Linked DNA regions of Homo sapiens: region 1 is linked to region 2. The links are contacts of gene promoters, found by promoter capture Hi-C in human tissues and cell types (Jung and others, 2019). All regions are on one chromosome and are shown on one strand. The core of a region is centred on a gene start or on the middle of the fragment in contact, and the rest is flanking DNA. Distances in the headings are between cores, read along the strand shown. Region 1 overlaps ZNF250 (zinc finger protein 250). Region 2 holds the start of C8orf33 (chromosome 8 open reading frame 33).

Region 1 (6,730 bases), core at 2,778-5,277, 180 kb before region 2:
AAGAGGTTACAGAGCAGGTTTATTTGCCAATTTGCCAGCTAAAGCTCAAGCGGCAAAGGAGGGAGAGGTTCATCCCTACCCTTCTGCACCCCCTCCTTATTATTTTGAAGAAAAAGACCCTCCAGATCTTTCTTTTCCAGAGGACATTGGGTGAAAAGTAGTTGCCCCAGTGACTGAGCAATGCCTTGAGCAACTGCTCTTAGTTCTATTCAGGCAGGAATTCAGCAAGCTAGATGAGAGGGCGATTTAGAGGCTTGGCAATTCCCTGTTAGAATACACCCCCCAGATCAACAGGGAAATATTATAGTTACATTTGAGCCTTTTCCTTTTAAATTATTTAAAGAATTTAAACAAGCTGTTAATCAGTATGGACCAGGTTCTCCTTTTGTAATGGGACTGTTAAAGAATGTTGCTGTTTCCAGTTGGATGATTCCTACTGACTGGGATGCTCTTACTCGAGCTTGTCTAACTCCTGCTCAGTTCTTACAATTTAAAACTTGGTGGGCAGATGAAGCTTCCATTCAGGCTGCTCGCAATGCCCAGGCCCAAATTAATATAACTGAAGACTAACTTTTGGGGGTTGGCGGCTGGGCTGGTTTAGATGCACAAGTGGTCATGCAGGATGATGCCATAGAACAACTTAGAGGAGTGTGCATTAGAGCTTGGGAAAAAAATCACTTCATGTGGAGAACAATACCCTTCCTTTAGTGCAGTAAAACAGGGACCAAAAAAACCATACATGGATTTTATAGCTCGGTTACAGGAGTCTCTTAAAAAGGTAACTGCAGATTCGACTGCTCAGGATATAGTGTTGCACTTATTAGCTTTCAACAATGCTAATCCCGACTGCCTGGCAGCTCTGCGACCTATCAGAGGGAAAGCACATTTAGTTGATTATACCAAGGCCTGTGATGGTATTGGAATTAATCTGCATAAGGCTACTCTGCTAGCACAGGCAATGGCAGGACTAAGAGTGGATAAAGGAAATATTCTATTTCCTGGAGCTTGTTTTAACTGTGGGAAGCATGGTCATACTAAAAAAGAATGTAGAAAAAATCAGCGAGTTATGCTGCCAGATAGGGGAAAAGAGAAAACTGTTGAGCCTGAAATATGTCCAAAATGTAAAAAAGGAAAACACTGGGCTAGTAAGTGTCACTCTAAGTTTGATAAAGATGGTAACCCGATTTCGGGAAACGCCATGAGGGGCCCATCCCAGGCCCCATTCTAAACCGGGGCATTTCCAGCTCAGGCCATTCCCTCACCCCTGTACAATGTCTGTCCTCTGCCACAGCCAGTAGTGCCACAGTTGATTTATGCTGCACAAAAGCTGTGAGCCTTCTGCCTGGGGAACCCCCACAAAAGGTCCCAACAGGAGTCTGTGGACCCTTGCCAGCAGGGATGATAGGATTACTTCTAGGCAGGTCTAGCTTAAATTTAAAAGGGGTACAAATACATACAGGAGTCATTGATTCAGATTACAATGGGGAAATTCAAATTGTTATATCTACTTCTGTTCCCTGGAAAGCAGAGCCAGGAGAGTGCATAGCACAGCTCCTGATTGTGCCATATGTGGGAATGGGAAAAAGTGAAGTTACATGAACAGGAGGATTTGGAAGCACAAATAAACAAGGCAAAGCAGCTTATCGGGTAAAGCAAGTTACTGATAAACGTCCTACCTGTGAAATAACTATTCAGGGAAAGAAATTTAAAGGTTTGGTAGATACAGGAGTGGACATTTCAATCATTTCTGTACAGCAGTGGCCGTCCACGTGGCCAATTCAACCCACCCAATTTAACATAGTTGGAATTGGTAAAGCCCCTGAAGTATATCAAAGTAGTTATATTTTGCATTGTGTAGGGCCTGATGGACAACCTGGTACTATCCAACCAGTTATAACTTCTGTACCTATAAATTTATGGGGGAGAGATTTATTACAACAATGGGGAGCACAAGTTCTAATTCCAGAACAATTATATAGCCCTCAAAGTCAACATATGATGCATAAAATAGGGGATGTAATTGTCATGAGTATTTTTCCTTCTTTTGTTAAAAACATGTTTGTGTTGGCCAGGCGCGGTGGCTCATGCCTGTAATCCCAGCACTTTGGGAGGCCGAGACGGACGGATCACGAGGTCAGGAGATCGAGACCATCCTGGCTAACACGGTGAAATCTCATCTCTACTAAAAATACAAAAAATTAGCTGGGCATGGTGGCGGGCACCTGTAGTCCCAGCTACTCAGGAGGCTGAGGCAGGAGAAAGGCATCAACCCGGGAGGCGGAGCTTGCAGTGATCTGAGATTGCGCCACTGCACTCCAGCCTGGGCAACTGAGCGTGACTATGTCTCGGGAAAAAAAAAAAAGTTTGTGCATGTAAACACTTGTACTAAGAATATCTTCATTTTATTTCATTTTCCTTTATCACGTGACATAAGATTTATTGACTTCATATCAGCATTTAAGTATTGTTAACTTTATGTAATAGCATTTGGGTTGGGGATTGGTTTGTTTCCAGTTGTACAAAAGATAGTTGTATTATGTTAGGTATAATTATGACCTTATTAGTGTCTTTATTTGAAGATTATGTATGATCTCAGGAGATGTGTATGGGTTCAAGTTGACAAGGGGTGGACTTGTGATGGTTAATACTGAGTGTCAACTTGATTGGATTAACAAATGCAAAGTATTAATCCTGGGTGTGTATGCGAGGGTGTTGCCAAAGGATATCAACATCCGAGTCAGTGGGCTGGGGAAGGCAGACCCACCCTTAATCTGGTGGGCACCATCTAATCAGCTGCCAGTGAATACAAAGCAGGCAGAAAAACGTGAAAAGGAGACTGGCCTGGCCTCCCAGCCTACATCTTTCTTCCATGCTGGACGCTTCCTGCCCTAGAACATCGGACTTCCAAGTTCTTCCATATATATATATATATATATATATATATTTCTATTAGTTCTGTGCCTCTAGAGAAGCTTAATACACACTACTACCACCCAAAAGTTTCCCCCACTCCAGGGCAAGTCCAACTCCTAGACAAGAAATTCCCAGCTTCTATCACCAGGTCCTCTGTACACTGAGTGGCCGTTGGTGGCCAGAGATTTCCCAGCCTGTTTTCTGGGAATGCCCCCTCTCTCTCAGGGATGCCTCAGGGCTGCCTGGCACATGCCAAGCCCAGTGTGCTGTCATCTTTCTCCAGAGAAGGTGAGAGGTGACAGCATGCTGGCAGCCCTTGCTTGCTCTCGGTGCCTCCTTGGCCTTGGCGTCCACTCTGGCTGTGCTTGAGGAGCCCTTCAGCCTGCCGCTGCACTGTGGAAGCCCCTTTCTGAGCTGGCCAAGGCTGGAGCCGGCTCCCTCAGCTTGCAGGGAGGTGTGGAGGGAGAGGCGTGGGTGGGAACCAGGGCTGCGCACGGTGCTTGTGGGCCAGCGTGAGTTCCGGGTGGGCATGGGCTCAGCAGGCCCCGCGCTCGGAGCTGCTGGCCGGCCTGCAAGCCCTGGGCAGTGAGGGGCTTAGCACCTGGGCCAGCAGCTGCTGTGCTCGACTTCTCACTGGGCCTTAGCTGCCTCCCCATGGGGCAGGGCTCGGGACCTGCAGCCTGCCATTCCTGAGGCTCCCCCTGCCCGCCGTGGGCTCCTGCGTGGCCTGAGCCTCCCTGACAAGCACCGTTCCCTGCTCCACAGCGCCCAGTCCCATTGACCACCCAAGGGCTGAGGAGTGCGGGCGCACAGCACAGGACTGGCAGGCAGCTCCACCTGTGGCCCTGGTGTGGGATCCACTGGGTGAAGCCAGCTGGGCTCCTAAGTCTAGTGGGGACTTGGAGAACCTTTATGTCTAGCTAAGGGATTGTAAACACACCAATCAGCACTCTGTGTCTAGCTCAGGGTTTGTGAATGCACCATTCGTCACTCTGTATCTAGTTAATCTGGTGGGGACTTGGAGAATCTTTATGTCTAGCTAAGGGATTGTAAATACACCAATCAGCACTCTGTATCTAGCTCAAGGTTTGTAAACACACCTGTCAGCACCCTGTGTCTAGCTCAGGGTTTGTGAATGCGCCAATCGGCACTCTGTATCTAGTTACTCTGTTGGGGACTTGGAGAACCTTTATGTCTAGCTAAAGGATTGTAAATACACAAATCAGCACTCTGTATCTAGCTCAAGGTTTGTAAATGCACCAATCAGCACTCTGTATCTAGCTAATCCAGTGGGGACATGGAGAACTTTTGTGTCTAGCTCAGGGATTGTAAATGCACCAATCAGCACCCTGTCAAAATGGACCAATCAGCTCTCTGTAAAACAGACCAATTGGCTCTCTGTAAAATGGACCAATCAAGCAGGATGTGGGTGGGGCCAGATAAGAGAATAAAAGCAGGCTGCCCGAGCCAGCAGTGGCAACCCGCTCGGGTCACCTTCCACACTGTGGAAGCTTTGTTCTTTTGCTCTTTGCAATAAATCTAGCTACTGCTCACTCTTTGGGTCCACACTGCTTTTACGAGCTGTAACACTCACCGCGAAGGTCTGCAGCTTCACTCCTGAAGCCATCGAGACCATGAACCCACCGGGAGGAATGAACAACTCCAGACGCACCACCTTAAGAGCTGTAACACTGACCGCGAAGGTCTGCAGCTTCACTCCTGAGCCAGTGAGACCACGAACCCACCAGAAGGAAGAAACTCTGAACACGTCCGAACATCAGAACGAACAAACTCCAGACACACTGCCTTTAAGAACTGTAACACTCACCACGAGGGTCCGCAGCTTCATTCTTGACGTCAGTGAGACCAAGAACCCACCAATTCCGGACACAAAGGGATGAGTCATACCACTGTCTCCTCACACCGGACATGGGATAGCCACAGCAGAAGCCACTTTATGGCCCAGAGAAATTCCAGGGAAAAAGGATTGTATTAATTGATAACATCATCAGCAATGCATGAAAGCACACATCTCCTCATACCTGGTCATTACAGGATAATCTTTACTAACTGATTAGTGGGTAGCATGTTGTTATTTGTTTTGGGATTGGTACACTTGAGCCTTTTCCAAGCTTCCATGGTTGTATATTCTCTTATTTGGAGTGGTCTGTTCATGTCCTATGGTCACTGATTTGTAGGAGATCTTTATGCCAAAGTTACTGATCTTTCTTCACTGCAAATACTTGTTCCAGTCATTACTTTTTTATTGGAAAGCGTCAGATTATACACAGAAATTCCAGGCAGACTAAAATGTTTTCCAAAATAATAGAAAATTTGAAGAGAACCAAGTTTCAAATTCTTAATAGCTGTTAGAAGAAACAATTTTAAAAGAAATATATACGTATTTTTTGTGACAAGGTCTCTCTCTGTTGTCCAGGCTAGATAGTATGATCACAGCACACTAGTCTTGAACTCCCAATCAATCCTCCCACCTTAGCCTCCCACGTATCTGGGACTACAGGCGCAAGCCACAACACCCAGCTAATTTTTTTTTTGTAGAGACGGGTTTTCGCCATGCTGGTCTCAAAGTCCTGGGCTCAAGCGATCCACCCACTTCAGCCTCCCAAAGTGCTGGGATTACAGGTGTGAGCCATTGCACCCAGCCAAAGAGAAGTATTTAAATACCTAAAATATACAGACTTCTGAATAAAACAAATCCAAAATAAAGGTGGAATGCTGCTGACAAATCAGGCAGAAGATAATGGTTGAGAAGACTGTTATCAGCATGAAAATTCAGGGCCCTGGCCTTTGATGTTATATCCCAAAAAGGTAGATAGCCCACATGTTCCAGTAGGTCATGTGCCACCTCTTTCTCCTTGGAGAGGAGGAGGTGAGTGGCAAGAAAATGTAGCCTGGGAATCCTCCTCAGAAAGAAGGGCATTGAAGCCCACTTCCTGGCTCCGTGGACACCTGAGCCTGCATTCTCACCAGTGGATCAATGGCAGCCTGACATAGCAAGAACAGGCAGAATGATATTAAGCTCATTTTAAGAATGCAGGAAAAAAACTATACTTTTTGGAAGGATTTCCCTGAAAACCCTAGGTTATTGGAATCCAGAATAACTTGTACTGTGTAACTTACGTTGTCCTGTGATACACAGTCTTTCTAAACAAATGTTCCTGTATATTGAATTTAATTATTCTCATCTTAATTGGAATATGACTTTGTCTTTAATGATTAGAAATTGGGGCCTGAATAGTAGTGGGCACTGAGCAGCTGCCACTGAGTCACATGCCAGCTGTGGACTCAGCTAACACAGGTTGGCAGCTTCCTTTCATAGAAGATTTAAGATAGCACCACAGTGTTCTCATTTTCTCTCAATTAATATTGAGGTGACCTCAGGTTTCTGGACTTTCATCTCAGTGATCTCATCTAGGTACCTGGGTGATCTCTTGGCTCTGAAGTAACACCTCAGTAATCTCAGTTCCTCTTTGGACTGTTACCTCAGTGATCTCAGCTCCATTCTGAAGTAACTTCTCAGTGATCATAGCTTTTCCCTAAAGTAACCTCTTTCTAAAGCATCACCCCTAGTGATCTCAACCTTTCTCTGAAGAATCACCTTAGTGATTTCAGCCACCTCTGAAGTTAACACCTGTGTGATCTCAACTCCAGTGAACAACTCAGTTATTTCATCTCCTTTCTAAAGTTAACAGCTTAGTGATCTCATTTCCTTTCTGAAGAATCACATCAGCAGTCTCAGCCTCTCTTAAGTAACATCTCTGTGATCTCAGCTTCTAACACCTGAGGGACACCATCT
Region 2 (6,659 bases), core at 3,766-6,265:
TGAACATCAGAGTATTTATCTGATAAGAAACTCTGTCAATGTAATGAACGAGAGAAAGCCTTCAGCTAGAGCTCAGTTGTAATTCACCATTAAAAAGTTCTAGGGTCGGGCGTGGTGGCTCATGCCTGTAATTCCAGCACTTTGGGAGGCCAAGGTGGGTGGAACATCTGAGGGCAGGAGTTTGAGACCAGCCTGGCCAGCATGGTGAAACTCTGTCTCTACTAAAAATACAAAAATCGGCCAGGGTTGGTGGTGGGTGCCTGTAATCCCAGCTACTCAGGAGGCTGAGGCAGCAGAATCACTTGACCTCAGAGGGAGGAGGCTGCAGTGAGCTGAGATTGTGCCACTGCACTCCATCCTGTGCTACAGAGTAATACTGTGTCAAAAAATAAATAAATAAAAGTTCTTACTGGAGAGAAACCTTATGAATATTATGAATGTGGGAAAGCTTTTATCCAGAAATGTATTAAGTACCAAAGATTTAATATCTCATGAATACAGAAAGTATGAGAAAACCTTTGCACAGAGCTCACACCTAATTCAGCATCAAAAAATTCAGTGGAAAGAAGTCATAAGTATGTAATTACTGTGGAAGAGCTTTCCATTCAAAATCACACCTTATTCAGCAGCAGATAATTCACAGTAGAGAAAAGGCCCGTGAATGCAATCAATGTGGAAAGCCTTCAATTGGAGCTCAGCACTTGCTAAAAATCAGATAATTAACACTGGAGTGAAACCTAATGGATGTAATGAATGTGGGAAAACTTTCATCCAGAGTTTAAATCTTATTCTGTCAGAGTTCATGCTGAGAGAAACCATATGAATGTAAATGAATGTGGAAGAGCCTTTAGTTACAGGTCACACCTTATTTCACATCATAGGATCCACACAGGAAATAAGCCATATGAATGCAAGGAATTTGGCAAAAATTCCCATCCAAATTTGTACCTTATTTGACATCAGGATATTCATCACAGAGAGAAATTACAGGAGTGTAATGAATGTGGGAAGGTGTTTGGTCAGAATCCAACCCTTGTTATACATCAGCAGATTCACATTGGAATGAAATCTGATAACTACAGTAAATGTAGGAAAGTTTTTTTGTAGATTCATAGCCCCTGCAGAACCTAAGGCAGTTCCAGGTAAAGAGAAACCCTATGGGTACAGTGAATATGGGAAGACCATACAGAATTCATACCACTTTCTGGATCAAAAAGAATCAAAGAAGAGACAAAGCCTATGAATCTCATGCATGTGCAAAAACCTTATATTATGTGTCAAAACTTATTAAGTATCAGGGTATGTAGTCTTTAATAGTTTAGAGCCTGTTCAGTAGCAGAAAATCCACTCTATCAATAAACTTTATGAACATAAATACTGTGACAAAGTCTTCAGGCTAATTTTAAGTTTAAAAAATCAGGCTTTATCATAGAAAAAAATGAGAAAAAAATAAAAGTAAAATGTGATCCAAACTTGTAATTATGTTAATGGAGACACAGTATATATAAACATATTTAGATATATGTTTTCTTTCTTTCTTTTTTCTTTTTTTTTTTTGAGACTAGGTCTTTCTCTGTCACCCAGGCTGGAGGGTGGTCGTAGAATTTTGGCTCACTGCAACATCCGCCCCTGCACCATCCCCCTTCCCACCGCTGCCCAAAGCAATCCTCCTGCCTCAGCCTCCCAAGTAGCTGGGACCACAACCGGCTAATTTTTTAAATTTTTTGTAGAGACCATGTTGCCCAGGCTGGTCTCAAACTCCTGGGCTCAGGCAATCTGCCTGCCTTGGCCTCTCAAAGTGCTGGGATTATATGCGGAGCCACTGTGCCCAGCCTGGATATCTGTTTTCTTAAACTGTGTCCTTCAAGGTCAGGGTACTTCTCTTGTTCTTTCACCGTACCCATCCCATTGCCTTATTCATTCAGCCCCTTAATAAATATTTTGGTGTGATTTGCTAACTATGGAAAAATCTTTTCTGAAGACTCATGTTTCCTGCCACAAGAGGAACCATAGAAAATATAGCACTGGAAAGGCAACAGTTCAAATCCAAGGTTATTCATGATTACATCAACCTACAATTACTGTGCAGCCCCTATGTGCCTGGTAGTGTGCCTGACAATGGCAAATCAGAGATGCAGAAACACTTGGCCTCTTTTCCTCATATCTCTCAGTCTAGTTGGGATACAAAGGTATGTAGAGACAGATAACCACATCAGTACAGTAATAGAGGTAAGAATACAGGGTTGAGTGGGGTCCCAGAGGTGGGAGAGGTCTACAGAGATGGCTCATTTTCAAAATTCTGAGAGACAATAACTGTTAACCTCAAATTGTGTTTCTATCCAAACTATCCTCCAGGAATTAGAATAAAAATAGGCATTTTCAGATGAGCAAAACCCAAAACACCATAACAGATTTCATTAAAGGAGCTTTAAAAGGATGTACATTTAAAGAAATGATATCAGAACTGAGATATAAGGAATGATGCCAGGCATGGGAGGCTGAGGTGGGAAGATTGCTTGAGCCCAGGAGTTCAAGACCAGCCTGGGCATCCTGGTGAGACCCCATCTCTACAAAAAATTACAAAATTAGCTGGTATGATGGTGCATGCCTGTGGTCCCAGCTACTTGGGAGGCTGAGGCAGGAGGGAGGATCAGTTGAGCCCAGGACAACCTAGGTGACAGAGTGAGACATGGACTCTAAGAAAAACAAAAGTTGTATATTTGAAAACACTGACTGTAAATAGAATTAAGTCTAATATGGCAGATTTAAAAACAAAGATAGAAATGAAGTCAAGACAAAAATAGCATATGAGTCAGGAAGGTAATGGATAAAATCAGAGCATTGAAAGTGAGGCAGGATAGGTAGTCAAGGAAGTAACCATGTCCTCGGGATGCAGCAACTGTTGTGACTGTGCAATCAGCACAATAAGCCTCTGCCTTCACATTGTGGTTAAGCTCTTTCAAGCAAAACTATCTTCAGTAGAGAATTTCCCCTGCAAAGAGCATGTACATTTTGATTTTACCTGTCCTCAGACTGACCTTTCGCTCATTATAATAGTAAAAAACAGAGCCCTGGTTGGAGGTTTAAGATGCTAATAAGACATGTGACATGTACGAACAATCATATACCAGCATGTAGAACAAGCATTGTATGACAAGAAGCATTGTATGAACAAGCATGTAAGAACATACAGCTACCGCACATGTGCACTCAGAGGACCATCCAGAACATACTCACTAGTAGCACCTCTTCCCAATTCCTTATGAATAATCATGTAAGACCCCCATAAAGGGAGTCTCCCTCATGCGTCTTTGCTGCCCCAACCTTATGAGCAGCTGGCCCTCAATCCTCTCTCTCTCTCTCAGGGTGTACTGTCTATTGTTCACTTAACTTTCCAAATATTCTTTCTCCTTTGTAATAAATTACTGTATGCCGCATCTCCTTTACTGCGTGTCCCGTTTAAATTCTGCGTGTTTTTTTTTTTTTTTTTTTTTTAGATGGAGTCTCGCTCTGTCACCCAGGCTGTAGTGCAGCGGTGCGATCTTGGCTCACTGCAAGCTCCACCTCCCGGGTTCATGCCATTCTCCTGCCTCAGCCTCCCGAGTAGCTGGGACTACAAGTGCCCGCCACTATGCCCGGCTAATTTTTTGGTATTTTTTAGTAGAGACGGGGTTTCACTATGTTAGCCAGGATGGTCTCAAACTCCTAACCTCGTGATCCGCCCGCATCGGCCTCCCAAAGTGTTGGGATTACAGGCGTGAGTCACCGCGCCCGGCCAATCCGCCGAATTTTGGGAGTAATGTATCACACTGCAGTAAATAACTATCAGTGATGACCAAACTGTAACCCTTCGAGACCTTGCAGACCAGGCAGCTAACACTTCCCACCCCACCGTCTCAGGAAACACCGCTTTCCACTCCTGTGTCCCCGAAAGGAATCATCAGACATCTCGGACTCTTACCTTCTCAAGCAACACAACCCACCCTCCTGGCATAGCCCGTTGCCCCCCTGAAACCCTACTCAGCCTCACCTCAACCCCTACGCAATTCCTCTCGGTTGTCATGCCTCCATCGGCGGGGGTCGAGTGTTGTGTGTGACCCCAGGTCTCTAGCAAGGTATAGTGGGAGGGAAGCATCCAGGGGAAGAGAGGTGGTGGGATGGGGCTCTCCCTCTCCCCCATACCGCCACCCTCCCTCACGTCCATATCCTGTCCAAGGCTCTTCCCGCGTCTGCTTCTGAAACCCCTCCACGTCCCTCCACCCCATGTGCCCCACTCGTTACACAAGAGCAGAGAGATCTGCAGAACATACGTCTACGATTATGCCACTCTTCAGATTTACATCTTGCAGCGACTTCCCACTGCGTTAGAACGGAAGTAAGCCCATGACGGGGGCCCTCCCAACTCTCAGACCTCACCCGAGCCTCCACGTCCCGAGACGCCGGCCTCTCAAACGACCGCGCCCTGACCCTCGCTCTTCCCCATTTCCCAGGGTCTTTGCCGACCACCCTCTTGCGCCGTAGCTGCTCACGTGCTGTTTACTTGCTTTTCCCTCCCCACCAAAAGGTGAGCCTTGAGAAGACACACCCTCGTGGAGAGCTTTGAACTTTTATCCGGAAAGGTGCCGGGCACGTAGTCAGCGCCCGCGATCACTCGCTCACAAGGGTTCTTCCGAGACCCCTCTTCAGCCTCTTCCCCGAACCCCCAGGCCCCGCCCCAGCCCCATCTCAGCTTCGTCCCAGGCGCGTCCCAGCTTCGCCCCGTCCCAGCTTCATCCCACCCCAGCCGCGCCCCGCCCCGCCCGCTCCCCGCCCCGCCCGCGCCCCGCCCGCGCCCCGCCCCGCCCGCGCCCCGCCCGCGCCCCGCCCGCGCCCCGCCCGCGCCCCGCCCGCGCCCCGCCCGCGCCCCGCCCGCGCCCCGCCCGCGCCCCGCCCGCGCCCCGCCCGCGCCCCGCGGAACCTAGAGTCGCAGGCGCGTTCTTGAAGGACGGAATTCGGCGTCGGACTCTGCGCCCCGCGTAGTTCCGGTGGCGACTGCGGCGCATGGCGGTGAGCGGTGTGGAGAAGACGCGCGGGTGGCTGGGCCTTGCATTGTTGGCGGCTCTCGGTGACCCTCGTGCTACCCCCCTTTCTCCAGGCCCTGGGACATCTTGCTGGGGAGGCAGCGGCGGCCCCAGGCCCGGGTACTCCCTGCGCGTCCCGCGGAGCCCGGCTTCCCGGCCCAGTTTCCAGCGCCCGGAATCCTTCCACTGTCTGTCTCTGCCCAGAGCAACCTACGTGCAGTAACGCTGACTCCAGAGCGCACCCGTTGGGCGATGAAGGCGGCACAGCGTCGAAAAAACAAAAGAATAAGAAGAAAACGCGGAACAGGGCCTCTGTGGCAAATGGAGGCGAGAAGGCCTCAGAGAAACTCGCCCCAGAAGAAGTTCCCCTAAGCGCTGAGGCCCAGGCAAGGGCGGGCTTCGGTCGGGAAGGGTGGAATCCACGGGTGCGAATCCACGGGCACGTGTGATCTGGGGTCCGCGGAGTTAAGGCGGGGAGGGGCATGGGATGGGGCCGGCGGCTATGGTTTTCCAGTGCCCTCTCACAGCCACTTCCCCAAATCCATCACAGGCACAACAGTTGGCCCAGGAATTGGCTTGGTGTGTGGAGCAACTGGAGCTGGGCCTCAAGAGGCAGAAACCCACCCCGAAACAGAGTAAGGGACCCTTCTGTAGAGCTGGGGGATGTGAACAGTGGCACTGCCTGGCCTGCAGGTGCTGGCAGAGTATGGAGTTGTTGGCTTTGCGGCGGGGTGGTAGGAGGTCAGTAATAGAGGTGTTCACTAGTCCTTTATTTTTATTCGCAGAAGAGCAGGCTATTGGAGCAATCCGAACCCTGCGCAGCAAAAGAACGCCCTTGCCCCGGAAGAGGCAGCTGATGCACTCCTTGTTTGGAGACTATAGGGCTCAGATGGAAGCCGAATGGCGTGAGGCCCTGCGGGCTCTCAGAGCTGGTGAGGAGCTAGCCACTGGTTGATTCAGGAAGGCCTAACTTAAGGAGGAAGTGTCTAGGGGGTGAAAGGAAGAAGGCCCAGAGCAACAAGCCTGGTGGGGGAAGGAGATGGGCTCAGGGAAGCCTGAGGGAGCAGGGAAACAGAAAGCGTGGACCTCTCTTTCCTCTTCCTAGGACTGAACCTGGGAAGCAGCGGGGAGGCCCTGGGAGGAGTGGGAAAGAGCATGGTCCTATGTTGGTCCTGCTCCTGGGTTGGGGAAAGCTGCCTCATGTCTTTGTGTCTTGGCTTTCTCTACTAGCAATGAAGCCATATCCCATAACAGTTTGAGTGCAATTCCTGGGGCCAGATCAGCTAGGTTCAAATCCTGGATCTACCACATAGTAGTACTAACACCTTTTGCAAACTACTGAACCTCTCTAAGTGGGGGATGATAGTAATATCAACCTTACAAATTTGAGGAATTAATCAGTTAATTTATGCAAGGTGGTTAGAATTGTATGGGCAAACATAACTGTACAGGTAATGTTAATTGTTATTATTCAGTTCTGACATACGCTGCTTCTCTCCCCGACAGCTGCTTATTCAGCCCAGGTGCAACCTGTAGATGGAGCCACCAGAAAGAAGAGCCAAAGGGTCTGCAGGCCTCGCTCTATATGGAGAGCCAAAG

Evidence for each region. The method cuts DNA at HindIII sites, captures the fragments that hold promoters and counts their contacts. A contact is called where the count stands out against the background at its distance.
Region 1: a fragment that was not itself captured here is called in contact with the fragment with the promoter of C8orf33 in region 2 in 3 of the 25 tissues and cell types used here (H1 embryonic stem cells, adrenal gland and dorsolateral prefrontal cortex).

Annotation. Positions count from the first base shown.
Region 1 is chr8:144,871,796-144,878,525 of GRCh38, forward strand. ZNF250 (zinc finger protein 250) reads right to left here. Exons shown (of 6, transcript NM_001109689.4): 6 at 5,160-6,730. Among named protein-coding and RNA genes, the nearest start is that of COMMD5, 22 kb to the left of the region's middle. The HindIII fragment of the contact is 4,568 bases long and covers 1,744-6,311 here.
Region 2 is chr8:145,047,452-145,054,110 of GRCh38, forward strand. It overlaps C8orf33 (chromosome 8 open reading frame 33), which reads left to right and starts at 5,016. Exons shown (of 5, transcript NM_023080.3): 1 at 5,016-5,046; 2 at 5,135-5,446; 3 at 5,611-5,695; 4 at 5,846-5,992; 5 at 6,567-6,659. The coding sequence starts at 5,041. It also overlaps the pseudogene LOC100419763. RefSeq lists enhancers at 4,442-4,571, 4,612-4,661, 5,590-6,390 and a silencer at 4,872-4,941. The HindIII fragment of the contact is 15,142 bases long and covers 1-6,659 here.